Regions from separate parts of the Homo sapiens genome. Here region 1 is linked to region 2. The links are contacts of gene promoters, found by promoter capture Hi-C in blood cells and fetal thymus (Javierre and others, 2016). All regions are on one chromosome and are shown on one strand. Each heading gives the region's core, a stretch centred on a gene start or on the middle of the fragment in contact. The rest is flanking DNA. Distances are from core to core; before and after follow the strand shown. Region 1 overlaps SRSF10 (serine and arginine rich splicing factor 10). Region 2 holds the start of LYPLA2 (lysophospholipase 2).

Evidence for each region. The method cuts DNA at HindIII sites, captures the fragments that hold promoters and counts their contacts. A CHiCAGO score of 5 or more calls a contact.
Region 1: a contact is called between a fragment that was not itself captured here and the fragment with the promoter of LYPLA2 in region 2, in 5 of 17 cell types (fetal thymus, neutrophils, monocytes and 2 more). The highest score is 6.4, in fetal thymus.

Annotation. Positions count from the first base shown.
Region 1 is chr1:23,962,587-23,967,133 of GRCh38, reverse strand. It overlaps SRSF10 (serine and arginine rich splicing factor 10), which reads left to right. Exons shown (of 6, transcript NM_054016.4): 6 at 1-2,787. PNRC2 (proline rich nuclear receptor coactivator 2) reads right to left here. Exons shown (of 3, transcript NM_017761.4): 3 at 3,672-4,547. Among named protein-coding and RNA genes, the nearest start is that of PNRC2, 5.0 kb to the right of the region's middle. The HindIII fragment of the contact is 1,721 bases long and covers 840-2,560 here.
Region 2 is chr1:23,788,459-23,792,639 of GRCh38, reverse strand. It overlaps LYPLA2 (lysophospholipase 2), which reads right to left and starts at 1,495. Exons shown (of 10, transcript NM_007260.3): 1 at 1,390-1,495. It overlaps LOC105376860 (a long non-coding RNA gene), which reads left to right. Exons shown (of 2, transcript XR_947067.3): 2 at 1,850-2,026. RefSeq lists a silencer at 1,258-1,317. The HindIII fragment of the contact is 1,905 bases long and covers 1,131-3,035 here.

The DNA of each region.
Region 1 (4,547 bases), core at 451-2,950, 170 kb before region 2:
CAGGTAAATTCCAATTATATTTGACATCCAGCTAAGAGGGCCCATCTCTTCTCACCTCTTTCCTAGTCAGTATATTCAGCAAATATTTATTGAGCCCTTACTGTGGGCAAATCATTGTACTGGATAATTGAGAAAAATAGATAATTCCCTTATTCAGTAAATGTCTACTGAGCACAATCTAGTGAATCATTACAGTATGGCCTCATTGTTTTGTTTGAGGTGTGTTATTCATAACAATATTTTACACCATTCGTATCAATGTAATTATAGAACACAATATACGATCAAGGATAAGTAATTGTGTGGTTATCTGCCATTTAAAAGTATCCAGTATTTGATCACATTATTATAAATAATGAAAAAATGATTTAATCTGTAATAAACTGGTTTATTGTGCAGTGACTGTAATATACTAGAGTTATAATAAATTGTTTACTCTGCCTCACCAAACACATGCTAGGATATAACCCCCAAAATAAGTATTTAACTTTGCATTAGGTATAAAGGAGACTGGGTGCTATAATTAGATTATTTTGAGGCAGACAGAGAGCTGTTATCCTAACTGATTTAGTATGTTCTGTAATTGAGAAAATGTTCACCAAATTATACTTTTTAGTGATTTACATGTACATTTTATAGGGGACATGTTCTGTGTATAGCGAATAAATAACTTTTATAGTATCACAAAATGTTTTGGATTCCTTAGTTTCTTATTAGGATATGATGTTTCTTTACCTATACATTGATTTCATCACATTTGATTTTTGTCATCTTTTTTGCCACATACTTAAAATTTTCCATATAAAATTAACTAAAAATCTGGAAGTGGAATTTAAGCTTTTAATTTGTAGCAATTTTGAAAATATAGCAGAGGTATATTTTCAAGGGAGGTGTGAAATGGAGGTATTATTGTTTGTATTTTATTTTAGAAATTTTGTTTGAACTTGCCCAAGATCACACAGCAAGTGTCAGATCCTAGGTTACAGCCCATAATTTTTCACTTGTTTCATCTTTTGTTACCATGTTTGTTGTTTAATCCAATGGGGAAGTGTTTTTATAGCTTTATTTTCATGGAGATAGTAACATTGATATAATGGGATCTAGAATTTACTTAGAGTCAAAGTGACTAGATTTAATTACAAAAAGTATTTTGTTGTATACCGTTATACACTCATTAACATAGGGGTTCTTATGGACAGAGGTTCTATGTATTTTTAAAAGAATATGTAGAGGCTATAGACTTTTTTGCCCTCTACCTCCCTTCTCCATTTCCTTTTGAAGTTAAGACATTTAAGGGGGAGAATTAAGGTGCATATTGAGTTGGGGTTTTGTTTAAAAAAAATTAGGTAAATACATATATAACTACAATAACAACAGTTGGTAGTTCTCTAAAATATTTAATTATGGTAAATCAGAAAAGGCCCTTTAATTTTTGCATCTGTTGAATGAATTGCTTTAGGATCTCTTCTGTGGTTGTTTCTCTCTATACTGAATGCTGTCAATATTATTGAGCACTTACTGTGCCGAACCATGTGCTTTTCAAATATTTCTATTTAATCCTAAAAACACTCCTGGGAAATGGGTATTATTCCCATTTTACAGATGAGAAAATTGTCCTTTGTAGAATACCCATCATGTGATAGCTTCTTGCATATTATGCTATTCATTTCTCACAACCTTACAAGGTAAATGGATAATGTTCCTGGATGAGAGATTAAACGTACTCGAAGATCTTATGGTTGTGTGGCTCAGAGACTCTAAGCATGGCTTTCCAAATCTCATTCTCTTGTAGAGATTTTCCATTGTATTGCATTTTGACCATGTTCCTGTTTACAAAACCTAAGATTATATTCTGAAGTATCTGTGACTTGAGTGATAGCTCAGGAATAATCTGAGGGCATTCTATTAGGAAGGAGGACTAGCAAAGCCTATAGTTAGCCTATCCTAGGCATGAACTATTCTCATTTTAGATAGGATGACTTGATAAATAGGATGAAGTGAGCAACCTGTTTGTCTTCGGTTATTGCTATCTACAAGACATTCTGCTAGTCACTGTGGAAAAGTTTCCTTCTCTTGGGTTTTTTCCTCTTCCCCTTCCTCTTAACAGTGTTGGTTATCTTTATTATGTTTCTGTGTATTTGTAACAGCTGTTTCACCCTTGTATTGCATAATGGGGATTTTTCTTGGAATAAAAAGTGAGGCATGTAAATTCATTGAGAACTAACCGTAGTTTGTAAAGAAGTAAAAGGCCTTTGTATCTAGTTTTTTGCAGATCACATTTCTTTGAATGCTGGAAAGTGAAATAAACTGGTCTAGGAGCCAAAAATAAATCTTGGGTTTTTTTAAGATTTTGCTCTTAGATTTGTAACCACCTGGGTACAACTTTTTCCTAATTTGTGTAAGAGGTTTTAGAGATGCACTCTGTCCCTCTTGCTTTACAAATTGCCTACAAGAATGCAACCAAAATACTAGAAACTGAAACTTACACAAAACCTTTCAGGTTTTTTCCTGTGTTGTAGTTCTAGGGAAGAGGATAGTTTATTAGTATTTATTTTAAGCTTAAGGATAGGTTTTGGACCTGGATTCCATCATAGTATAACTGCCATCGAAAAGAAGACAAATTGAAATTACAGCATTTACCTAAGGTTCACAGTATGGCTGACTTCAGCAGCCTTACATGGTAAGTTCTCTGTACCAGCTATTTTTGGTTCTCGCAATTGCATCGACTTGGGAAATTCCTATCACCATTCTCTATATAGGCTAACCAAAACTTTTATCAGTACCTTTCCTAAAGTATGAAGTTAGGTAATCTTCCACTCCCACTTCCATTTACTCATTTTGCTTGAGTCAAACCAAAAATCTAGTGTATTACTAGATTAGTCACTAAAAATCTAGTGTATTCAATATATACACTAGATTCAATATATAGCTTAAAAACTAACAGACACCTAGGCTGAGATTTGTCCAATACATGAAGTTCAATTCTGCAATCCTTGGCATTGTTCACAGAAATTACCCTGGAAACAAAATGAACACCCAAATGCTGGTTCTGCCTTAACTCCAAATTGTTAACTAGTTTGCATGAAAATAATACAGCTTTGCCATGGGACTAGTTGTAGCATTTTAAGGATTACTCAAACTAGTTTTAAGATGCCCTATCATTTGGAATCTGTATCAGAAAGGTGTGGTTGTGATGCTTTTCTTCTGAGGGGTCCCCTTATATACTTTTCATTTGTCAACATACTTAAAACACAAGGGTTCTTGTCAACTTGATAAATTTGCTTATAATTTTTTTTCTATGAACCTAGATCATGGAATTAACTTTCAAAAGCTTTGCGATGTTTTCCATGTGTGGCCTTTTTTTTGCTTTTTAATTAACACTACTGGGAGAGAGAAATCCTAAGTAGTTGCTTAACTGCATAGCTGTCAAATCCTAGTATCTTCTGTATCAGTCAGCAAACTAGTTGCCCCTTTTCAAGCCAACAGTCCTATCACATTTTAGTTGTGACCTTTTTTATATATACGTATATATATATGATCAGAAATGTAGTGGTTCATAGTTCTGGAGTCTGAGAAATCCAAGAGTTTGGAATATTGTGAGTGTATTATGAGCTTCAAGTCAGTGACAAGTAAAACACATTTTTAAAAAGAATATTAAGCAATCAAAACCATTTTTAAAATAAAACCAAGCCAATGGGGAAAAATTTTATTTAATTTTATGCTTCACATTCATATCATGTACATTAAGTACTACATAAACTTGTCTTTAGGCTATCAATATTTAACTTGGGCAGTACTTCATCTTGATTTATTTGGAGAAATACAGCTTAGGCATCTGCTTACCTGCTTAGGCATCAAGAGGTGCCAAATTAGAAAATAGGGCATTAACAATCAAAATTTTTAAGCTGACCCACATACTTGCTACTGGTTTCGCTTATGTTTAAGCATTTAAAGTTGGCAAAACATGTTATCAATGTATTATGCAAGAGTTTACATCTTTTGCATAAGTGGTCCATTGGGTTGCACCTACCCCTTGACCAAACAAAAACAAAACATCACTGGCACCATACTCGAAACTACCTGTATCCTAGGTTATAAGATTGTGAAAGCCAACAATCTATAAGGTTGGAGGGACTCTAGTTAATCTTTGGGCTTAGAGGAGGAAAAAAAGATAGTCCCATACTGCATTTCACATCTCTTAAAAATAGTTTTAGCAGCTTAAACCTTTTTAGTTATAAAACTTATTACACTAGGGTTTACTTTGAAATATAGTTTACAACCAAATCAAGTATAACATACATACACTGGCACTTTAGCACAAGGGCAAACTTTAAAAACAAGTTATTTTGGACCTTTAAAATTAGGCCATATTATAAAAAACAGTCCACGGTCTTACATTCAGCAAATTCATACTAAAATACTCCATTTTTGTAAGATAAAGGCCAAGAAAACTTTACATATGCTACAAGTTTATTACAGATATTTACATGGCTCTTTCTCCCCTAGGTACTTAAAATTTTCACATTATCCAACTCCCCAAAGCAAGC
Region 2 (4,181 bases), core at 246-2,745:
GCGGTCAAGAGCAAAACCAGGCACAGGACACACTCCTGGCCCAAGAGGCCACCAGGCCATCAGCCCCACACAGCACCCAGGTTCTGTCCTGGGCACAAAGAATAGTCAAGCAAGAAGTCCCAGGGCACAGGAGAAGAAGTCTGCCTCAGTTCCAGGGCTGAAAGGCAGAGACAGCCTCCCTAGTGGCCCAGAACATGTGTCTCTGGTTCTGGCCCAACCACAGGACCTGAGCTTGCTGGAGACAGGCAGAGGCAGGGCATAGGGACTGTAGGGCAGGGGGCAGAGGGGAGGCAGCGGCACGCCTGCTTCATTCCCCCTCTAACTCCTCAGGGGTGAGTGCCTTCCCCCTCCTCTCCAATCATCCCTGGGTCCCTGCCTCCCCAACTCCGGGCCCTATGGGAAATGGAGAGAAAAGTGCCAGGGAAAGGAGCTTCCATCCCCTACTCAGTGCCGCCTCCAACCCCCATCTCAACCTCCCCCCACCCAGCCCCCATCCAGCCTTCACAGCAGTTTCTGGCCCATCCATTCCCAGACCCCCAGGGGGCTGCCCATGTCCCCAGAAAGCGTAAGAACTCCACCCACCCCCAAACTGGTGCTCCACGCCCCCCCTAAACGGAGCTACCTGCTGCTGCTGCCACTGACTGCAAACGAGCCCTGGCTTGACCACGCTCTGGGACTCCCAAACACACAAAAGAATGTCAGGCTGGCTGGCCCCTCCCCATCCTCGGCGTCCTCCAAACTCGCCGGAAGCTTCCACTACCTGCCTCAAGTGCCTGCCCACCCCTCCCAACTGGCCTCACCTTCCATCTCTGACCCCTGAGGGCAGCTCCCCACAATGGGATCGTTCACCTGTGACCCGGGGTTCCTCTTCCCATGGGGAATGCACCTCCTGCCCTGAGCTGCGATTCCCTTCCTTCTCCACCGTGGGGACTTGCACCTCCCGCCCAGGCTCCCTCCTCGGAGGGGTGCCTTCCCCCTGACCTGTCTCTCTCTATACACCTTGAGAACTTCCACCCTGACCCAGGATCTCCCGCTCCCCACAATGGGAACTTCTGTTCTGACCAAAGGTCACCCTACCCAGTGAAATTTTCTACCCTGACCCAGGACTCCCACCTGCCCACAATAAAGCTTTGTACCTTTGACTCTGGGGAAGCCCCCGCCCCACAATGGGCTCTTCTATTTCCGACCCTGAAGTCTGTCTCTTTATACTCAGACACCCCCTTGCCTAGCCCCGCTCCACTCCCGAAGTCCCCAAGACTGGACAGCGCCTTCGCACCTCACTCCCCACCCCCATCCCCCCCATCACGGTTCCCCCTCCCCGCTCTCCGGGACCCTCCCGAGGCCGACCTCCCCCTACACGCCCATCCTCCGCAGCCGCCGGCTGGGTACCTCCACTCCCTGGGACTTCCGAGGCCGCTTGGGCGATTCTCCTCTTTCTCCCGCAGACACACTCTTCCCCCTCGGCCGCCCCCGCCGGAACTTCCGTTCGAGTCCCGGGAACCCAGCCATCGCGCTGCCGGAAGTAGCCTGGCCGACAGTACGGAACCCGGAAGCGGGGACCCGGCTTCGCTGGATAGAAGCTGCCATGTTGGAGGCGGCGGGGCTACTCCCTGTCATTCAGCCGCGCAGTCGCTGGGTTCTCACCCGCTCCCACCTTGTAGATTCGAGACAGGGCACCCAAGACTCCCACTTGCTACCACCACCCATGCGCCTCCTGGAGGAGGGCCGACCGGAAGGAGAGGCATCCCTCACACTATTGTTTGCATAAACTTTACCACCTTCCCATCCTCATGGGACACACCTCTTAAGGCCTCGGGTGTCTGCCACTGGCTTTCATGCCCTATTCCAGGATCATGAATGGAATGACACACTCTGAACCGAAGAGACCTTACAGATCATCTAGTTCTCCAGCCTTGAAGATGGGGAAACTGAGGCTCAAGGAAGGCATGTAAACAGCAACCTCGGGATTCCATTTAAATTCTGCCTCTCTGGATCTGCTTCCTGATATATAAAATGGTAATAACCACCCTGCCTCCTTCACAGCTTTGTTGGTAGGCTTAAATGAGGTTGTGTGAACATGGTTTATACAGTAAAATCACAGCGTGAGGTGTTAATCACGCAAAAAAGGACCTAGGAAAAATACAAAGGCCGTATCAGGAGAGCTGGACAGGCACTGGCAGTGTTAGCGCTGCCCTTCACAAGCAATGTCATGCAGACAGTGCACAAAACGCTGCCATCAAGCTGAAGTGGAAATAGGTATCAGGGACCACAGAAAAGTCAGAAGGCAGGCAAACTGAGTTGAAGGAGCATGTCCCTGAGAATGTGTGGGGATCTGCAAATAGGAAATGAGTCACACTTGACCCTCAGCCGCTTAGGACTCACTCTCCCAGCCTAACCTATACTAGTGTTTTCTTTGAACAGAAAGAAAACAGTACAGCCAGGCGCGGTGGCTCACTCCTGTAATCCCAGCACTTTGGGAGGCTGAGGCGGGCGGATCACGAGGTCAGGAGATCGAGACCATCCTGGCTAACACGGTGAAACCCTGTCTCTACTAAAAATACAAAAAATTAGCCTGGCGCTGTGGCGGGCGCCTGTAGTCCTAGCTACTCGGGGGGAGGCTGAGGCAGGAGAATGGCGTGAACCCGGGAGGCGGAGCTTGCAGTGAGCCAAGATAGTGCCACTACACTCCAGCCTGGGCAACAAAGCGAGACTCTGTCTCAAAAAAAAAAAAAAAAAAAAAAGAAAGAAAAGAAAAAGAAAACAGTACAAAGTTGGAAGCTCAACAAAGCACTTTCCCCCAGGCCCAGAGGCACTTTGGTCCTAAGTACTCAACAGGTCAGGGAGCCTACAATACCAGGATTCGGGGCAGGAAACCTTTGAGCCTATGGGACCACCACAAGCCAAGGACCCAGGACTGAATGTCAAAAGAAAATGGAGGGTAATGTCCCCACTTATGGAAGAATGAACAGTTCCTCCTGCAACCTCGATCACCTGAGACACCATGACACTTAAAACAAATTCTTCAGAGTGAAGCTTCAAATTCAGAGGCTCAGTCCCAGGAGCTGTGATTAATGCTTTAATTAGTGGAATTAGTGAAGGGCTAGTCTGCTCTAAGATTTTTAACTTTATTTTTCCCCCTACTCCAAATTTAAACATAGCCCTTCTTTTAACTCCAAAAAATGATCCAACTGAAATAAAGAGGCTGTGGCTGAGTGAATAGGACCCTTCATGCTTTTCAAGAACAGCATTTGCATTCTGGTTTATTTCAGGCTGCATTTTAGAAATTTTGAGGGCCAACAAGGTTTGGTGGTAGCAGACCTTTCCTAGGACAGGCTGGAGAAACAGTGGCTATATCCTCCAAACAACAGCATGGGCCAATGCCTCAGAGGAATTCTCCCAAAAGGATCAGATTCAACACTAATTCCCTTTATTACCTGTTCCTGTTTTCTGCAAGGGAGAGAATACTGACCATATCAAATCCCCTTTTTAGATACTTACATTCTCTTCAATTGCTAAACTGACTTTCAAAATTTAAGTCCAAAGTCTTTGGTCTACCTGGAGACCACATGAGCTGCTCAATTACTTTCCTCACCCTCATTTCTTCTGATGAGCTCCAAAATCTGTTCTCCCTTATTTTTGTAAATGTCATTCTACAAATCACTTCCTTTTGTGCAAAATGAAATATAGGGTTTTGTTGTTGTTGTTTTGAGACAAGGTCTCACTCTGTTGCCTCAGGCTGGGGTGCAGTGGCGCAATCATGGCTTACTGTAGCCTCGACCTCCTGGGCTCCAGTGATCCTCCCACCTCAGCCTCCCAAGTGGCTGGGACTACAGGTGCACGCCACCATGCCCAGTTAATTTCTGTGAAATACAGGTTTTCAACCCCACCTTCTTCTTTACTATATATGGGTGTAGGAGTGTTTTTGGCCTACTGTACAAAATTAAGCTTGACCATTCCTGGAGAAACTGATCCAGTCTTGATTTTTTTTTTTTTTTTTTTTGAGACGGAGTCTCACTCTGTCACCCAGGCTGGAGTGCAGTGGTGCAATCTCAGGTCACTGCAAGCTCCGCTTCCCGGGTTCATGCCATTCTCCTGCCTCAGCCTCCTGAGTAGCTGGGACTACAGGCTCCCGCCACCGCACCCGGCTAATTTTTTGTATTTTTGGTAGAGACGGTTTCACC